2 separate regions of the Homo sapiens genome follow, and region 2 is linked to region 1. Evidence: promoter capture Hi-C in 16 types of primary human blood cells and fetal thymus (Javierre and others, 2016). All regions are on one chromosome and are shown on one strand. The core of a region is centred on a gene start or on the middle of the fragment in contact, and the rest is flanking DNA. Distances in the headings are between cores, read along the strand shown. Region 1 holds the start of TOMM20 (translocase of outer mitochondrial membrane 20). Region 2 overlaps GGPS1 (geranylgeranyl diphosphate synthase 1).

Region 1 (4,465 bases), core at 223-2,722:
GTGGTACAATCATAACTCAACTGCAGCCTCAACCTCCTGGGATTAAGGGATACTTCCGCATCATTCCCCATGTAGTTGGGACCACAGGTGTGTGCCACCACGCCTGGCTAAGTTTTTAATTTTTTTGTGGAGACAGGGTCTCACCATGTTGCCCAGGCTGGTGTTGAACTCTTGGGCTCAAGCTATCCGCCCATCTGGGCCTCCCAAAGTGCTGGGATTACAGGTGTGAGACACTGCCTGGTCTTTGTCAAAGGACTGTTAATCCTGTGTAACTACTGTCTTCTGCAAGGATCAATATTATCTTTAAAGGGAAAATTAAACTAAGAATGCTTTTGTTCTTAAGATATCAGGACATCAGGACATTTCCTGGGTCTGTTAGGTAAACATTATTAACTTGTTCCCTTCCCTGTAAATATCCTGTGACCAAGAATGCCAAACTTCCTGGGAATGTGCCCCAATAGGTCTCAGCCTCATTTTACCCAGCCCCTATTCAAGGTAAGGTAGCTCTGGTTCCAATGTCTCTTGACACTGATGCTTGACTTCGATACCCCTCAACTTACAGTGTCTGTTTAATGCCTGCTTTCTGCCCACGATTTTCCTTGTCAATATCTTAAGTTAGATCATATATATATATATTTTGTTTTTTTGAGACGGACTCCTGATCTGTCACTCAGGCTGGAGTGCAGTGGCTCGATCTTGGCTCACTGCAACCTCTGCCTCCTGGTTCAAGCGATTCTCCCGCCTCAGCCTCCAGAGTAGCTGGGATTACAGGCCCCGGCCACCATGGCCAGCTAATTTTTGTATTTTTAGTAGAGACAGGGTTTCACTATGTTGGCCAGGCTGGTCTCAAACTCCTGGCCTTAAGTGATCCGCCTGCCTCGGCCTCCCAAAGTGTTGAGATTACAGGCGTGAGCCACCGCGCCTGGCCTGATCATGTGTATGTTTTCGTGTGGCTATAAAACAATTCACGTTTTCTATTTTTTCTTCAATTGTGTATATTTTTCAAGAAATTACTCCATTTAATTTTATTCCAGTTATCATAAAATGAGGCTATCCTGTAACATTCTTTTGAAATGGAACCACTACGCACAATGGATTGTGGCAACCTGAAAAGAAAGTACAGTTTAATTCAAACAAGTCACAGGCTGCCTGTGTTAGACAAGATGAAGCATTCGCAGTCTGGGACCCTGCATCTCTGTCTGCCACAAACAAGGCTGTCAGCTAGTCTTCTGAGTACGTGCACGCCAGTAACGCGTACGCCTCGTTACAGCATGGTCGGCGGATATGAAAAAAAGTCCGTGGTCACGTGCAAATTCCCGACTCCAGTGCGTACACCCAGCGGCGCAGGGGAAACGCCGGCTTCGCCCACTGCGCAGGCGCAGGAGCCGCGCTCTGGGCCTCTGCTCAGGCTCTGCCGCGGACGACCTCGAGGCCCTTAGTTGACTGGGACCGGAAGTGGCGTGTGCTCGGCCTTTCTGTGTTCCTGGCCCGCGGCCGTCGGGTGTGAGCTGCGCCGACCGCTCTGAGGGTTCGTGGCCCACCGCTCCTTCGCGGTCCCTGCCGCCACCGTCCACGCTCAGCGTTGTAGAGAAGATGGTGGGTCGGAACAGCGCCATCGCCGCCGGTGTATGCGGGGCCCTTTTCATTGGGTACTGCATCTACTTCGACCGCAAAAGACGAAGTGACCCCAACTTCAAGAACAGGCTTCGAGAACGTGAGTGGGTCCTCTCTCCCCTGGCCAGGCTTGCTGCCTTCGGCCGCCGCCCTTCACAGGAGGGGTCATTGCCTCCCACCAGCCTGTGGGCCGCGCAGGGCGACCGCGTGGTGCGGCCCTCAATAGGCGATGGCGCTGGCTGCGCCGCTCCGGGGGCTCTAGTGCCCCGTAGGAATTCCATTTTGGAGGAAGGATTTTTCCCGTTTTGTTTTCCCCAGACACTTTAGCCGTGCAAATGCACTCTTGATTTCTGTTGCAATCTCGGGTGTGTGTGGCCTGGGGAGGAGGTTGTCTCTTTTTTTGTCGTTCATCTTTTTAAACCTCTACTCTTAACTAAAAAGTCGTGCATTTTTGTCGCAAATTTTAGTCTGAGGCTAAATCCGCATGCTCAGTGCAGTATCATTGTTGCATTCTTTTTTTTGAGACGGAATCTCGCTCTGTCGCCCAGGCTGTAGTGCAGTGGCGCGATCTCGGCTCACTGCAACCTCCGCCTCCCGAGTTCAAGCGCTTCTCCTGCCTCAGTCTCCCCAGTAGCTGGGATTACAGTCGGGCGTCACCACGCCCGGTGATTTTTTGTGTTTAGTAGAGACGGGGTTTCACCGTGTTGGTCAGGCTAGTCTCGAACTCCTGACCTCAGATGATCCGCCTGGCTCATTGCTGCATTCTTAAACCCTCTTGGTAGCTTCGTTCTAAGTGCTTCCAAGATATGAGTGAATGCTATAGAAATTGCAGGGGAGTCCAAAGGGCTGCGCTTCTCCCGTGGCTCAGTCTTATTTCATACCTGCGACATCTTTTAAGAGAGGTCTACCAGAGGGGAATCGTGTCATGAAAACCGTTGTGATCCACCTTGAATTTTCGGAGAATCTTCATTCGCATCATTGAAGAGCAAATTTGTTGCAATAAGAAATATTTTTTGGCTTATCTTGGTTGTTCAGCCAAATTAGTTTTTGGAATTAAAATTGATACGTAAGTTACTAAAGCCCAAGGGGTACAAAGAAGGGATTATTGTTTACTTAAGTAACAGTGGTTACGGTTTAATTCAGCTATACTAAGTCATTTCAAGTGTTCAGTAGCCCTGTGTGAGCAGTGACTGCAGCGCTGATCTTACTAGCACTAAGAATCAGACATCTAGTTCCAGCTTTCTTATGTTTTAGGAGGGAAGGGATATAGACATAATTTGATTTATGACTAGGCAGACTAATAGAATACTGTTTTACATTCAGACCTTGAATTTCTAGGGCCAGGTTAGCGGCATAATTTGGGGTTTCTGAATCCTAATTTCTGTAGTTGTAAAATCAGGTAATGCCACCTACCTCTTGTTGATCTTGTGAAGGTTGAGATGTTTGAATTGCCTTCCACGTTTTCTGACATAGGAAATGCTCCTCCATAAATGCTGGTGGTCATTCTGCCTTCGGGTTATTGTCCTGTAGTTGCCAAAATGGGTGACAGCTGGGGGCTTTGGTACAAATGCAGAGTTATAAAGAATGGATTAACCCTATCTTCCGTTGGAAACCCTGAAGTCCTGTTGCAGAAACAAGAGCTATCATTTTAGACAAATGGAGGAATGTTATTTCAAAATAACTTCTCCATCATTTTCAATCTAAAATTGTTTTTTCTGGATTTAGCGGCAACCTAATGATTACAGTGAATTACTTAGCTGCAGCAGTAACTTTAGGCAAGTAACTTCAAGCTTTAGTTTTCCCTTTTTGTAAAATGGTATAGTGTAGAGTTTTAGTCCTGTTCCTCACACATGGTAATTGATGAATGCTAGAGATTTTTTGTTGTTGTTGTTTGTTTGTTTGAGTCTCGCTCTGTCGCCCAGGCTCGAGTGCAGTGGGGTGATCTCGGATCATTGCAACCTCCGCCTCCCGGGTTCAAGCAATTCTGCCTCAGCCTCCTGAGTAGCTGGGATTACAGGCGCACACCACCATGCCAGGCTAATTTTTGTATTTTTAGTAGAGACAGGGTTTCACCATATTGGCCAGGTTGGTCTCGAACTCCTGACTTCATGATCTGCCCGTCTCAGCCTCCCAAAGTGCTGGGATTACAGGCGTGAGCCACCGCGTCCGGATGAGATATTTTTATGAGTAGAAATATTTTGTTGTTTGATGTTTTTGTAAAATTTATTTAGAATAATCTTGCAGTCTGTTCACAGGTAATTGAGGCTGGGTGTGGTGGCTCAACGCTAGTAATCTCAGCACTTTGGGAGGCCGAGGTGGGCGGATCACCTCATGTCAGGAGTTCAAGCAGCCTGGCCAGCATGGTGAAACCCCCACTCTGCTAAAAATACAAAAATTAGCCGGGTGTGGTGGTGCACGCCGGTAGTCCCAGCTGCTTGGGAGGCTGAGGCAGAATTGCTGGAATGTGGAAGGTGGAGGTTGCAGTGAGCAGAGACTGCACCACTGCACTCCATCCTGGGGGGACAGAGCAAGACTCTGTCTCCAAAATATACGTGTGTGTGTGTGTGTGTCTTTATATATATTTATATCTATATCTATCTATCTTTATCTATCTATCTATCTATCTAATCTAATCTATCGACCAGGCGCAGTGACTCACGCCTGTAATCCCAGCACTTTGGGAGGCCAAGGTGGGAAGATCATGAGGTCAGGAGATCGAGACCAGCCTGGTCAACATGGTGAAACCCCGTCTCTACTAAAAATACAAAAAAAAAAAAATTAGCTGGGCGTGGTGGCACGCACCTGTAGTCCCAGCTACTTGGGAGACTGAGGTAGGAAGATCGCTTGAACC
Region 2 (4,892 bases), core at 643-3,142, 210 kb before region 1:
TACACGGAAAGCTCAAGATAGGTCTTTTTGTTTTTTGTTTTTGAGACGGAGTCTCATTCTGTTGCCCAGGCTGGATTGCAGCGGCGTGATCTCGGCTCACTTGCAACCTCCGCCTCCCAAGATCAAGCTATTCTCCTGCCTCAGCCTCCTGAGTAGCTGGGATTACACGCATGTGCCACCATGCGTGGCTAATTTAAGATAGGTCTTTGGATAGAAGTTACCACTAGAAGTCATTGTAGTCACATACAAAGGAATGATAGATAAAAACCATGGCCAGTTCACTTAGTAAAAATGTTCTATAAGTTTTCTGCTAAATGAATGCATGGTAATAACATCCTAATTTTAGATAAGGTTTCAGGAAAATGGTTACATAAAAAGTTAAAACTAAAATACTGTTTTCTTTTTTTTTTTTTGGAGATGGAATTTCGCTCTTGTCACCCAGGCTAGAGTGCAATGGTGTGATCTCGGCTCACTGCAACCTCCGCCCCCTGGGTTCAAGCGATTCTCCTGCCTCAGCCTCCCAAGTAGCTGGGATTACAGGCACCTGCCACCACACCTGGCTAATTTTTGTAATTTTAGTAGAGACAGGGTTTCACTATGTTGGCCAGGCTGGTGTCAAACTCCTGACCTCAGGTAATTCACCTGTGTTGGCCTCCCAAAATGCTGGGATTATGGGTTTTTTTGTTTGTTTGTTTGTTTGTGGAGATGAAGTTTTGCTCTGTCACCTAGGCTGGAAAGCAATGGCACGATCTTGGCTCGGCTCACCACAACCTTCGCCTCCTGGGTTCAAGGGATTCTCCTGTCTCAGCCTCCCGAGTAGCTGGGATTACAGGTGTGCGTCACTACGCCTAGCTAATTTTTTGTATTTTTTTTCTGAGATCGAGTTTTGCTCTTGTTGCCCAGGCTGGGGTACAGTGTCACGATCTTGGCTCACTGCAACCTCCACCTCCTAGGTTCAAGCGATTCTCCTGCCTCAGCCTCCTGAGTAGCTGGGATTACAGTCGTGCGCCACTAAATCCAGCTAATTTTTTGTATTTTTAGTAGAGACGGTTTCATCATGTTGGCCAGGCTGGTCTTGAATTCCTGACCTCAGGTGATCCACCCACCTCAGCCTCCCAAAGTGTAGGGATTACATGCGTGAGCTACCGCGCCCGGCCAATTTTTTGTACTTTTAATAGAGACAGGGTTTCCCCATGTTGGCCAGGCTGGTCTCGAACTCCTGACCTCAAGTCGTCCACATGCTTTGGCCTCTCGAAGTGCTGGGATTACAGGTGTGACCCACCACGCCCGGCCTATTATTATTATTTTTGAGACAGGGTCTCGCTCTGTCACCCAGGCTGGAGTGCAGTGGCACAATCACGGCCTACTGCAGCCTTGACCTCCTAGGCTCAAGTCCCCTGAGTAGCTGGGACTACAAGAACAAGCCACCATGCCTGGCTAATTTTATTTTTATTTATTTATTTTTTGTAGAGGCAGGGTTTCGCCCTGTTGCCCAGGCTGGTCTCAAACCCCTGGGCTCAAAAGCAATCTGTCCCACTTGGCCTCCCAAAGTGCTGGGATAATAAGTCAGCCACTGCACTTGGCCTGTATCACTTAAACACATTTTTTTGAAGATGAAAAACAGAGTCTCAATGTGAAATTTCATTTTTCATTTTACTTTTGAATGTTATATAGAAAACAGTACAATATATGGCTTATTTTTGAGGTACTACAGTTTTAATATTTTTTTCCCCTCTGATGACATGCTAGTGTTTAGCCTGATGCTTTTAAGTTTCCCCCCCTTTTTTTTTTCTGAGACGGGGTCTCCCTTAATCACCCAGGCTGGGGTGCAGTGGTGTGATCTTGGCTTACTGCAGCCTCAACCTCCCAGGCTCCGGTAATCATCCCACCTCAGTCCCCCAGGTAAGCTGGGACTACAAGGGCGTATCACATGCCTGGCTAATTTTTTGTATTTTTAGTAGAGACAGGGTTTTGCCATGTTGCCCAGGCTGGTCTTGAACTCCTGGGCTTAAGCCATCTGCCCACTTCGGTCTCCCAAAGTGCTGGGAGTACAGATGTGAGCCACCGCGCCTGGCTGAGTTCCAAAATAATTTCTAGTACTGAGGCTAATCACAGAGATCTCTCAAAATTAAAAGATTACTGCTTCCTCTTTAAGATCTAAACATTATTGTCTCTCTTTTTGGAGCCCTTCTTCCTCCACTGCCAGCTTCATCTCTCCCTAATCCCACCCTTCACCTCATCTAGGGCCCCACACTAAGGCAAATAAACAAACATAAACATAAGATGACAGCAAGTATGAGAAATTTAAAAATAAAAATAATTTTCTTTACTAATTTCAGAAAATCCTTTTTTTTTTTTGAGACAGTGTCTCACTCTGTTGCCCAGGCTGGAGTGCAGTGGCGTGATCTCGGCTCACTGCAACCTCTGCCTCCTAGGCTCCTGTGACTCCCGTGCCTCAGCTGGGACTACAGGCATGCGCTACCATACTTGGCTAATATTTGTATTTTTAGTAGATACAGGGTTTCACCATGTTGGCCAGGTTGACTTCAGAAAATACTGATAGCATTATTATTATTTATTAGCAAGAGTAATATTACAACAGTATAAATGACCTGGCACACCTCTAAGTTACTTTAGTAACTCTGAAGCTCTCTGTAAAAAAATAAGTGTGTTATGTGCATAGTGCAATGTCATATTTCTTTAGTAGTATCTTTTGAGGTTGTATTCCATCATGGATCAAGAACGTACTTGAATAAAAAGGTGAGGTACCTAGTGATAATTTTAAATATGTTATCTAATGTCTTAAAACATTATTTCCAAGTAATGAGAATTAAAAAAAAGGAAGTCACAGAAGGTGGTCACAGCATAAGTAAGCATTATGGTTAAAATGTAACTGTAGGCAGTCCTTGCTTTGTAAGTAGCAGAGTAAGAGACATTCAAGCGATGCTTGTTAGACTTTTGTCAGCACTGATAACTGGCTTGCTATTAATGCCAGCCCAGTTCCAGCTAGTGTTTGTGAGCGTGTTCTAAAGGATGTCTGGCAGTAAGAGCTGGGTAGAGTGAAAGTGAAACTGTGCCATGTTTCTCACTGGGAGATACTGAAATAAGTTACTAACTGCTGGATAAATGTCACTCAAAAGCAGTCTCTTGGCTTTTTCTTAAACAGTGGGCAACCTTCCCTTTGAATTCTCCATTTCTGTCATTCCCTCATTCTTCTCATGCATTGACATTAGCAGGCGAGTCTCTATTAGGGTCGGCCAAAATAAAAATGACACTAATTATGGTTTCCAAGGTGTAGCACAGGAGCAAGCATTCTTTTGGCTTTTATCCTTCCCAGGCTCATGAAGAACAGAAATGCACATATTACCACAGAGAAGTGCTCATAAAGAAAGGTGTGTACTTTAGCACGGAAATTTAAAAGTGTCTATTGAGACTGAATTGAGAGCATCATTAGAGTTTAGTCACAGTATGGCTAAATAGGTTTTTATGCTTGTCAAATAATTTACCAACTTTTATATTATTTCTTCTTTTTTAAAAAATGTTTAAAACAGAGAGGGGGACTTGTTATGTTGCCCAAGGTGGTCTCAAACTTTTGGTCTCAAGCAATCCTGCCTTGGCTTCCCAAAGTGCTGGGAATACAGGTGTGGGCCACCACACCTGGCCTATATTATGTCTATGAGAAAGAATATTCTAATACAAATGATTTTTTATTACAATAACCCCTGTTTATTATATTCATGAGTTTTTGCTTATTATCATTTCCAGACAAGTTCTTCTTTTTTTTTGAGTCGGAGTCTCATTCTGTTGCCAGGCTGGAGTGCAGTGATGCAATCTCAGCTCACTGCAACCTCTGCCTTCCAGGTTCAGGTGATTCTCCTGCCTCAGCCTCCCGAGTAGCTGGGACTACAGGCATGCGCCACCATGCCCAGCTAACTTTTGTGTTTTTAGTAGAGACGGGGTTTTACCATGTTGGCCAGGCTGGTCTCAACCTCTTGACCTCATGATCCGCCCGCCTTGGCCTCAAAAAGTGCTGGGATTACAGGCGTGAGCCACCACGCCCAGCCTCCAGACAAGTTTTTAAAGAAGCAAAATAAAACAAAAACACACACGTACACGTGAGGTAGGAAGCCATGTCCAAGGTGGCATACCCTTATACAGGAATAAAGTGGGCTATATTTCCAAATACTGTGATTTTAGATACATTATTATTTGGCTCTCAAAGGAACCAGTAGTATATGAAATGCAGTGTATGTGTGAGATACTGGAAAATACAGACATAGAAGGTAAACTTGAACATGTATGGTAAATAAAGTGTTCTACTGTTAAACAAATCTGCGTAACTTCCCCTAATATCTAAACAGTGGGGAATCTGAATGCGTAATATCCGTAAAGAGTACAACCTCCAATGAGATACCAAAATGTTTTAAGTATTTTTATTTTTCAAGATATGTTAAATAATTGGATATGTTTTAAAGGGTGCCTTCAAAAATTACGTTTCTTTTTAAGAGACGGGGTCTCACTATGTTGCCCAAGCTGGAGTGTAGTGGCTATTCACAGGTGTGATCATTGTGCACTATAGCCTTAAACTCCTGGGCTCAAGCCATCCTCCTGCCTCAGCCTCCCAAGTAGGTGGGACAACAGGTATGTATCACTGCACCTGGCAAAAATTACCTTTTAATAAAGAAAAAATTATAATGTTCTATTTATCATTTTTCTCATACGCATCACCTTAAATAGAAAATCTCAACGGCTAGCAAGTCTAACCTTTTCTATTTGCTAACATTTGAACGACCACTACTGCATGAAAATGACCCTATATGGACTGTAAGTGAAGTATTACCTGGTAACTGAAGTAAGTATTTATAGGGTTCTAGAAGAATTCTTTGGACTGT

Evidence for each region. Contacts are between HindIII fragments. The CHiCAGO score rates a contact against its expected background, and 5 or more counts as called.
Region 2: a fragment that was not itself captured here is called in contact with the fragment with the promoter of TOMM20 in region 1 in 1 of 17 cell types (naive CD4 T cells); the score reaches 5.3 in naive CD4 T cells.

Annotation. Positions count from the first base shown.
Region 1 is chr1:235,125,844-235,130,308 of GRCh38, reverse strand. It overlaps TOMM20 (translocase of outer mitochondrial membrane 20), which reads left to right and starts at 1,472. Exons shown (of 5, transcript NM_014765.3): 1 at 1,472-1,714. The coding sequence starts at 1,594. It overlaps SNORA14B (small nucleolar RNA, H/ACA box 14B), which reads left to right and starts at 2,372; the gene lies at 2,372-2,506. It overlaps LOC105379283 (a long non-coding RNA gene), which reads left to right and starts at 2,108. Exons shown (of 2, transcript XR_949295.4): 1 at 2,108-2,680; 2 at 3,340-3,390. RefSeq lists enhancers at 1,195-1,294, 1,525-1,744. The HindIII fragment of the contact is 4,902 bases long and covers 1-3,406 here.
Region 2 is chr1:235,335,283-235,340,174 of GRCh38, reverse strand. It overlaps GGPS1 (geranylgeranyl diphosphate synthase 1), which reads right to left. Exons shown (of 4, transcript NM_004837.4): 2 at 4,841-4,892. Among named protein-coding and RNA genes, the nearest start is that of GGPS1, 9.2 kb to the right of the region's middle. The HindIII fragment of the contact is 7,848 bases long and covers 1-4,892 here.